Linked DNA regions of Homo sapiens: region 1 is linked to region 2. Evidence: promoter capture Hi-C in human tissues and cell types (Jung and others, 2019). All regions are on one chromosome and are shown on one strand. The core of a region is centred on a gene start or on the middle of the fragment in contact, and the rest is flanking DNA. Distances in the headings are between cores, read along the strand shown.

The links. Contacts are between HindIII fragments. The study calls those that stand out against the background at their distance.
Region 1: a contact is called between a fragment that was not itself captured here and the fragment with the promoter of HAX1 in region 2, in 1 of the 25 tissues and cell types used here (liver).

Annotation. Positions count from the first base shown.
Region 1 is chr1:153,872,338-153,876,561 of GRCh38, reverse strand. The region is part of intron 1 of GATAD2B (GATA zinc finger domain containing 2B); the gene reads left to right. Among named protein-coding and RNA genes, the nearest start is that of GATAD2B, 49 kb to the left of the region's middle. The HindIII fragment of the contact is 8,682 bases long and covers 1-4,224 here.
Region 2 is chr1:154,270,510-154,274,398 of GRCh38, reverse strand. It overlaps HAX1 (HCLS1 associated protein X-1), which reads right to left and starts at 1,770. Exons shown (of 7, transcript NM_006118.4): 1 at 1,623-1,770; 2 at 801-1,063; 3 at 438-625. The coding sequence starts at 1,675. It overlaps UBAP2L (ubiquitin associated protein 2 like), which reads right to left. Exons shown (of 27, transcript NM_014847.4): 27 at 3,552-3,889. RefSeq lists an enhancer at 1,707-1,876 and a silencer at 2,014-2,154. The HindIII fragment of the contact is 12,660 bases long and covers 1-3,889 here.

The sequences.
Region 1 (4,224 bases), core at 49-2,548, 400 kb after region 2:
CCTTTACAATCCTTGGTGCATATTACTGAGCAGTATGTTACCCACTGCAAGGTCATCTAGGCTCTTTCTTTCAAGAATGTGAGCCAAAGGTTTGTGTAGTAAACTCAGTGATACAGAAAAGACACTGTAAGAGCATGTAAACAGTAATAGTCTTTCATAAGAATTACTCTCTTACCAGTCTGGTTGGATCGGAAACCAAAAATGACAATATAGATAGCATAGTACGATGGTTAAGGACATTGACTCAGGTAAGACAGTCCTGTGTTTTAACCACGCCCAGCCATTTAAGGACTGTGAAATCTTTTTTTTTTTTTTTTTTTTTTTTTTTTTTTTTGAGACGAAGTCTCACTGTGTTGCCCAGGCTGGAGTGTAGTGGCGCGATCTCAGCTCACTGCAGTCTCCGCCTCCCGGGTTCAAGCGATTCTCCTGCCTCAGCCTACTGAGTAGCTGGGACTACAGGCATGCGCCACCACACCCAGCTAATTTTTGTATTTTTTAGTAGAGGCGGGGTTTCACCATATTGGCCACGCTGATCTGGAACTCCTGACCTCATGATCCGCCTGCTTTGGCCTCTCAAAGTGCTGGGATTACAGGCATGAGCCACTGTGCCTGGCCTGGACTGTGAAATCGTATGAAGTTACTCAGTTTATCTGTTTTTCTTTTCTCTCTAACAGGAGGATAATTATATCTCCAGAGGTTCTAAATGAGATAATGCATTGTGAAGCACTTTAGCGCAATGCCTAGCACATAGTAAGAGCTCAGTGAATGTTAGCAAGATAGATATTCCTGTCTGTTGGGTTTGTTTATACTATTTTCATTGTTCTTACTAGTTTATTTTAGCCAGCTTGTGGCTACCTTTTTTTTTTTTTTTTTTTTTTCCCTCCAAACTCGTGGTAGGTCTATTGACCTGTATCAAGATCAGGAGTCAGCAAACTATAGCTGCTGCTTGTTTTGGTAAATGAAATTTTGTTGAAACACAGCCACACCCACTTGCTTACAAAAGCAGAGTTTAGTACTTGCCCCACAAAGTCTAAAATGTTATTATCTGGTCCTTTACAGAAGAAGTTTGTAAGAACCGCATGGTATAGATCAAGCTTGTCTAACCTGCAACTCTTGGGCTGCATGCGGCCCAGGACAGCTTTGAATGCAGCTCAATACAAATTCAGAAACTTTCTTAAAACATGAGATTTTTTTTTTCTTCCAGCTCATCAGCTATCTTTAGTGTTAGTGTATTTTATGTGTGGCCCAAGACAGTTCTTCCATTGTGGCCCAGGGAAGCCAAAAGGTTGGATGCCCCTGGTCTAATCAAGAGTCTTTTTTTCCTAGAAAAGTGACCTATGAAGCAAGTTCTAGAAATCAGAAGAGAAATAATGAGACTAAATTTGGCTGGGCGTGGTGGCTTACACCTGTAATTCCAGCACTTTGGGAGGCCTAGGCAAGAGGATCACTTGAGCCCAGGAGCTTGAGACCAGCCTGGTCAACACAACAAGACCCCATCTTTGCTTACAAGAAAAAATGCTGGGCATGGTGGCATGTCCCTGTAGTCCCAGTTAGTTGGGAGGCTGAGGTGGGAAGATTGATTGAGCCTGGGAGTTTGAGGCTGCAGTGAACCATGAGCTGTGATGGAGCCACTGTGCTCCAGCCTGGGTGACAGAACAAGACCCTGTTTCAAAAATAAATAAATAGGCTGGATGTGGTGGCTCACACCTGTAATCTCAGCACTTTGGGGGGCCAAGGCGAGTGGATCACCTGATGTCTGGAGTTCAAGACCAGTCTGAGCAATATGATGAAACCCTGTCTCTACTAAAAATACAAAAATTAGCTGGGCATGATGGCATGCACCTGTAGTCCCAGCTACTTGGGAGACTGAGACAGGAGAATTGCTTGAACCTGGGAGGTGGAGGTTGCAGTAAGCCGAGATCGCGCCACTGCACTCCAGCCTGGGTGACAGAGGGAAACTCCGTCTCAAAAACAAAAACAACAAAAAAACCCCAAAAATAGATAAATAAAAATTTAAAAATAGACTAGACTTACATGGACTAGAAGGAATTAATCATTTCAGATTTTTAGGAATAGGATTTTGAAGAAGGGAGGGTCTATTGACATGGCTAATAAGCATTAGGTGAAGGAAAGTACCGTTTGAAGTTGGTTAGGCAGTAACAGCACTTATTTTTAATCTCTTAGGGGCACTTCATAGTAGTGTGTTGTCTTAGTCCATTTTCTGTTGCTATAACCTGAGACTGGGTAATTTATAAAGAAAATAAATAAATTTCTTTCCCTCTCTCTTTTTTTTTTCTTTTGAGACGGAGTGTTGCTCTGTCTCCCAGGCTGGAGTGCAGTGGCACTATCTCAGCTCATTGCAACCTCTGCCTCCTGGGTTCAAGCGATTCTCCTGCCTCAGCCTCCCAAGTAGCTGGGACTACAGGCACACGCCACCACACCCAGCTAATTTTTGTATTTTTAGTAGAGATGGGATTTCACCATGTTGGCCAGGATGGTCTCAGACGATCTCTTGACCTCATGATCCACCCTCCTCGGCCTCCCAAAGTGCTGAGATTATAGGCATGAGCCACCGCACCCGGTCCCCTCCCTACCTTTCTTTCTTTCCTCTTTCCTTTTTATTTATTCTCTGTCACCCAGGCTGGAGTGCAGTTGTGCAGTCATAGCTTATTGTAGCCTTGAACTCCTAGGCTCAAGCAGTCCTCCTGCCTCAGCCTCTCAAGTAGCTAGGACTACAGGCATGTGCCTTTGCACCCAGCTAAATTGCTTTAAAAATGTTTTGTAGAGATGGGGTCTCACTATGTTGCCTAGGCTGGAGTGGAGCTCCTGTACTCAAGCAATATATCCACCTTGGCCTCTCAAAAGTGCTGGGATTACAGGCATGAGCCACCATGACCAGCCCCAAGAAATTTATTTCTCACGGCTCTGGAGGCTGGAAAGTCCAGGGTCAAGGGGCCATATCTGCTGAGGGCCTTCTTGCTGGTGGGGACCTTGCAGAGTTCCAGAGTGGCACAGGGCATCACATGGTGAGGGGACTAACGAGAGACAGCCACATTGGCTTTTATTACAGACCCACTCTTGTGCTAACTAGCCCCTTCTCTGAATAACCCATTAATCTGAGAATGGCTCAAGCACTTCCTAAAGGTCTCGCCTCTTAACACGCCTGCATTGGGCACCAAGTATCCAACAGATGAACTTCTGGGGGACACATTCAAATCGTTGCGGGGTATTAAAGCGAAGTACAAAGAAGAGAGATTTGCTGTCAAGTAGTTTGCATTAAACTTGGAAATAAATATGAATTGGTAGGTTACCTATTAAACAAGTGTGTTAGAGTAGCCTAGCAGTTTTCAAAGTGTAGTCTGTGGAATCCTAGAGAATAGACTCCTTTCATGGAGTCTGTGAGATCAGAATAGTTTCATAATAATACTAAGTCATCATTTGCCTTCTTCCCTGTGTTAACATTTGCAGTGATATCCAAAAGCAATGCTGATTAAAACGTTAGGGTAACCCTGAGCAATAGCACCAAACTAGTAGCAGGCATTGTGTTCTTTATTGTCATGCAGTTTAAATTTGCAGTAAAAAAAAAAAAGTTTCATTTAAGAATGTTCTTGATGAAGCAGTAAAAATTAATTTTATTTAATCTTGACCTTTTAGTACTTGGCTTTTGAATATTTTGTGTGATAAAATGGGAAGTACTCAAAAAACACTTCTGTTATATATTGAAGTACTGTGGTTGTCTAAGGAAAAGTACTTTTACAGTTATTTGGGTTTCCAGCTAACTAGTTGTCTTCTTCATAGAACAGCATTTTTACTTGATGAAAGAATAACCAACAAAGTACGTTATTTAGACTTGGGTATTTGGCAGATGCTTTCTTGAAAATTTTCAAGGAAAACAACTATTTTTGCCCAGTGATAAAATTAAAGCAAAAATGAGAATTTTGGAAAGTTTATATACTCCACCATGAGACGGTCCACTTCCCAGTTAGTTTTGTGGGGTTTTTTTTTTTTGATATTATGTAATATGTCAACCTTCGAAAGAGCTGCATGACTTAGTGAACTAGAAGTTTTCACATGACCAATATATTATGTGACAAAATCAGATTTGGTGAGAGATCCACTCAAAGTATAAAGTAGACCAATGTATTTTAATGTAATAATACAAAAGTTCATTGATAGGGTTTCAGAGTTCACATTTGCTGCTAACCTTTAGAAATTACTGGGTTG
Region 2 (3,889 bases), core at 521-3,020:
GCAGGCGACTGTAATCCCAGCTACTCAGGAGGCTGAGGCAGGAGAATCACTTGAACCTGGGAATTGGAGGTTGCAGTGAGCTGAGATTGTGCCACGGCACTACAGCCTGGGCAACAGAGCAAGGCTGGGTCTCAAACAATTTTTGAGATGGAGTCTCCACCTCCTGGGTTCAACCAATTCTCCTGCCTCAGCCTCCTGAGTAGCTGGCATTACAGGCACCTGCCACCATGCCCGGCTAATTTTTTGTATTTTTAGTAGACACGGGGTTTCACCATGTTGACCAGGCTGGTCTCCAACTCCTGACCTCTGGTGATCTGCCCACCTCGGCCTCCCAAAGTGCTGGGATTACAGGCGTGAGCCACCGCACCTAGCCAGTCTTTGCACTTTATTAGTGGTCTCTCACAAGCTCTCACTTCAGGACCAGATGGGATACTCACCCTATGAAATGGCCTCTGGGAGCCCCAGTCTGGTGCTGGTTGGGGGGATTCACTTCTTGCATCACTCTCCAAGACCCCCCCAAAGATCCTGGGCTGGTGACTATCTGGATACTTAAGCATTGAGTCCCGAAGTGTCTGTCCCTCCCGTAGTCTCTCACCAGGTGTCTCTGACTCAGGACCTGGAAGTTCTGCAGAAAGGTGGCAGGTGTTTGCTGGGATGGGAAAGGACTTGGGCTCTATTAATCTCTCTGAAATCATCAGTCTTCTCACACTTCCCATCCCCCAGCTACTCCCTGCAGGCTCTTTATTTCACCCACCAACCCACCAGAAACCACAGGTTGCCCCTTAGGGAAAGCCACACACCAGGAGGATGGGAAGGCAAGGTCCAGGCCCCCATATCGCTGAAGATGCTATTGAAATCTCGTACTAGGTCATCAAAGCCGAAGTTATCGTGGAAACGTATCCCTCCTCCTGGGCTGAAGCTGAAGCCGAAGCCAAATTCCTCAGGGGGGTGCTGAGGACTATGGAACCTTGGGTTCCCACGGCCCCATGAGCCCCCTTCTTCTTCTTCTTCCTCATCATCATCTTCATCTCGAGTCATCCCTCCAAAAAAGGGATCTCTGTGGCTGAGAGTGGAGGCAGATTGGCCACCAATATTTCAGCACTATTTAAGCCATTAAATCAACTCATGGGTGGCAAAGTGGGACAAGAGCAAGGGGTCTGGGAAGCTAGGGAGAGGGTCGGAGGACTGGCTGCCACATCAAAACATTAATACAATGGCTGACAGTTCTTTTTTTTTTTTTTTTTTTTTAATCAAAGTCAGACCTCAGCTCGCAGCTCCCTTCATACACCTTCCCCCAGTTTTTCTTCAGTGTGCCCCAGTCCCTCCTCTCTCTCCCAAGGTCCTGCTCACTTGCTCACTGTCTTATTCCCCAGACCCTCACGGTCTTCCCCGCCCGGGTCCCTGTTGCATCACCCCAGGTTGGAGAAAGGCTTAGTTTGCTGTTTCTCCTCTTAATGACCGCCTTGGTTACTGTGGCGGGGTGAGTGTTCAATGTTGCGACTTCTGTCCTCTCTGCAGGAGTTGAAGGAGTGGGACAGAGGATGTTTTTCCAAAAATAAGACGTAGGGGTCAAGCTCCCCTCAGACGACCCCCACCCTTGTCCGAGCCGGACCTACTCTCACCTCCGAGGTCCAGGAAAGCCGAAAAAGCCCCGGAAGAGATCAAAGAGGCTCATTCCCGTACTGGGACGCGAACCTTTGAACCCCTCCAGTGGTCCATTCGCAGACGGGGGAAACCTGCGCAGCCCTGTGAGAAATTGAGCGAGGCGTCAGCCCACGCTACCGGAAAGCAAGCCCGCGATCCTGACACTGTCGTAAACGACGGTAAGCCGGACGTGAAATGGAGGCGGGACCGAAGGTCTTCCTCAAATTTGAAAGGCTTTATCTTTACCCCACCTTTCAGAGACCAGTTTCCGTGACGGGAGTGGGCGTGACGCACTTTCAGTTTCCTATGACCGCCTTCCTCCTAAATCTGTTCTTCTTTCTGCAGACCAACTCAGTACGAAAAGCGATTTCGAGGGTTTGACTCTGGATGGCACCCGGATAAAGCCGCCAGAGGGCAGCCCAGCCGCACAAATGGACCGGCTTGAGGGCGTCCCTCAACCACCCCACCCGCGGGGCTGGCCAGCCTCACAGCAGAAGCCACCTCGCTCCTTACTCGGGCGTTCTTTTTGACTGACCTGGGCGATGTCTGCTGTTAGAGGGATGAACAAAATGCTTTTCCAAGCTCCTTCTAGTATTGAATTTCCCAGAGAAGAGATCAAGACATAAGAGACGCATGGACTTAACTTCCTCCACCTCTCTAGCTACTAGGGAGTTTGTTATAACTATATAGAATTCTTTTTTCTAAGCAGGCTCTGCAACCAGCAAGACAAAGGATTTTTAAGAAAGCAAGGGAAGGGAAGCTAGTTGAGTCCTGAGAAGGAACAAATTGGGGGTTATAAAGAAATATCCCTTTGGTATCTTTTTTTTTTTTTTTTTTTTTTTTTTTTTGAGACAGAGTTTTCTCTCATGTTTCCCAGGCTGGAGTGCAGTGGCACCATGTCGGCTCACTGCAACCTTCGCCTCCCAGGTTCTCTCCTGTCTCAGCCTCCCGAGTAGCTGGGATTACAGTCATGCGCCTCCACGCCCGGCTACTTTTGTATTTTTTGTAGAAACGGGGTTTCACCATGTTGACCAGGCTGGTCTCGAACTCCTGACCTAAGGTGATCCGCCCAACCCAGCCTCCCAAAGCGCCTGTCCTCATTCCTTTTTAAAAGTGTTTTGTTCAAAACCTCTCCGAGACCTGTCTCTCCCTGTACCCCATCCCCAAGCCAGACCTTGCTCTAGATTCTTTTTCAAAGAATTGGGTATAGCTATGTCACAGAGAAGCATCCAAGAAGCCACTACTACAGTAGTCCATTCCTAGGGGGAATGGGCCCCAAGGTTTTGTTTTTTTATTTCGTTTTTGGGGTACAGGTGGTGTTTGGTTACATGGATGAGTTCTTTAGTGATTTCTGCGACTTTAGCGCACCCATCACCCGAGCAGTGTACACTGTACCCAATATGTAGTCTTTCATCCCTCACCCCACTCCAAGATTTAGTTCTGCCAGACGATACATGTTGCCTTCACTTCTTTTTAGTTTATTTGCCTGGACCCATCTAAGTCATACTTAAAACTCTATAAAGCATTTTTTTTCTTTGAAATGGTCTCAGCTCCTTCTTGATCCTCTCCATTTTCCACCCAATCTCCTCTATCCCTCTCCCTTTACTGCCTGAAATCGGCTGTAGATGTAGCAGTTTCTGGAGGAAATGAAGATTTGTGGTGGTTCTTTCCAGTCACCAGGTTGTGAAAGTCTTAGGGGTGAGGGGAAGGAAATCCCCTCAAGGACAAGATACTACTACCACATTAAGGTCAGGAGTTCTTAAAGGGCGAAGATTTCATTTTATTCCACTGCCTTCAGGGGCCTGCTAGAGGAGGCCCAGTTGGTACAGTAATACTTATTCACCAAGCTGGTCATCGACGAAATTGAGGATGTCCTAGACGGAGCAAGAATAGGCAGAGGCTGAAGGTAGAGGTTTTCTTTTTATATATACAAGACACATTAATCCATTAAATTTGAGGACACAGTACAAAAAAAAAAAAAAAACAAAAAAAAAACCACTTCAACTAATTCATCTGACAATGCTGTTCATATTCATGACGCCATTTTTTTGTTTGTTGTTGTTGTTGTTTTCCTAATAATAAAGAAGGAGACTTAGGGCTGTTGGGCTGATATATGTTTGGGGGTCCCACCTCCCCGCCTCATCCGTACACCACCAGGGTGAACAGGAGGAAGCAAAGGAAGTGCAGGGCCCATAGCAAAGTTTCATAATCTTGAATGCAAGAGGGGAGAAGGAATGGAAGGGGG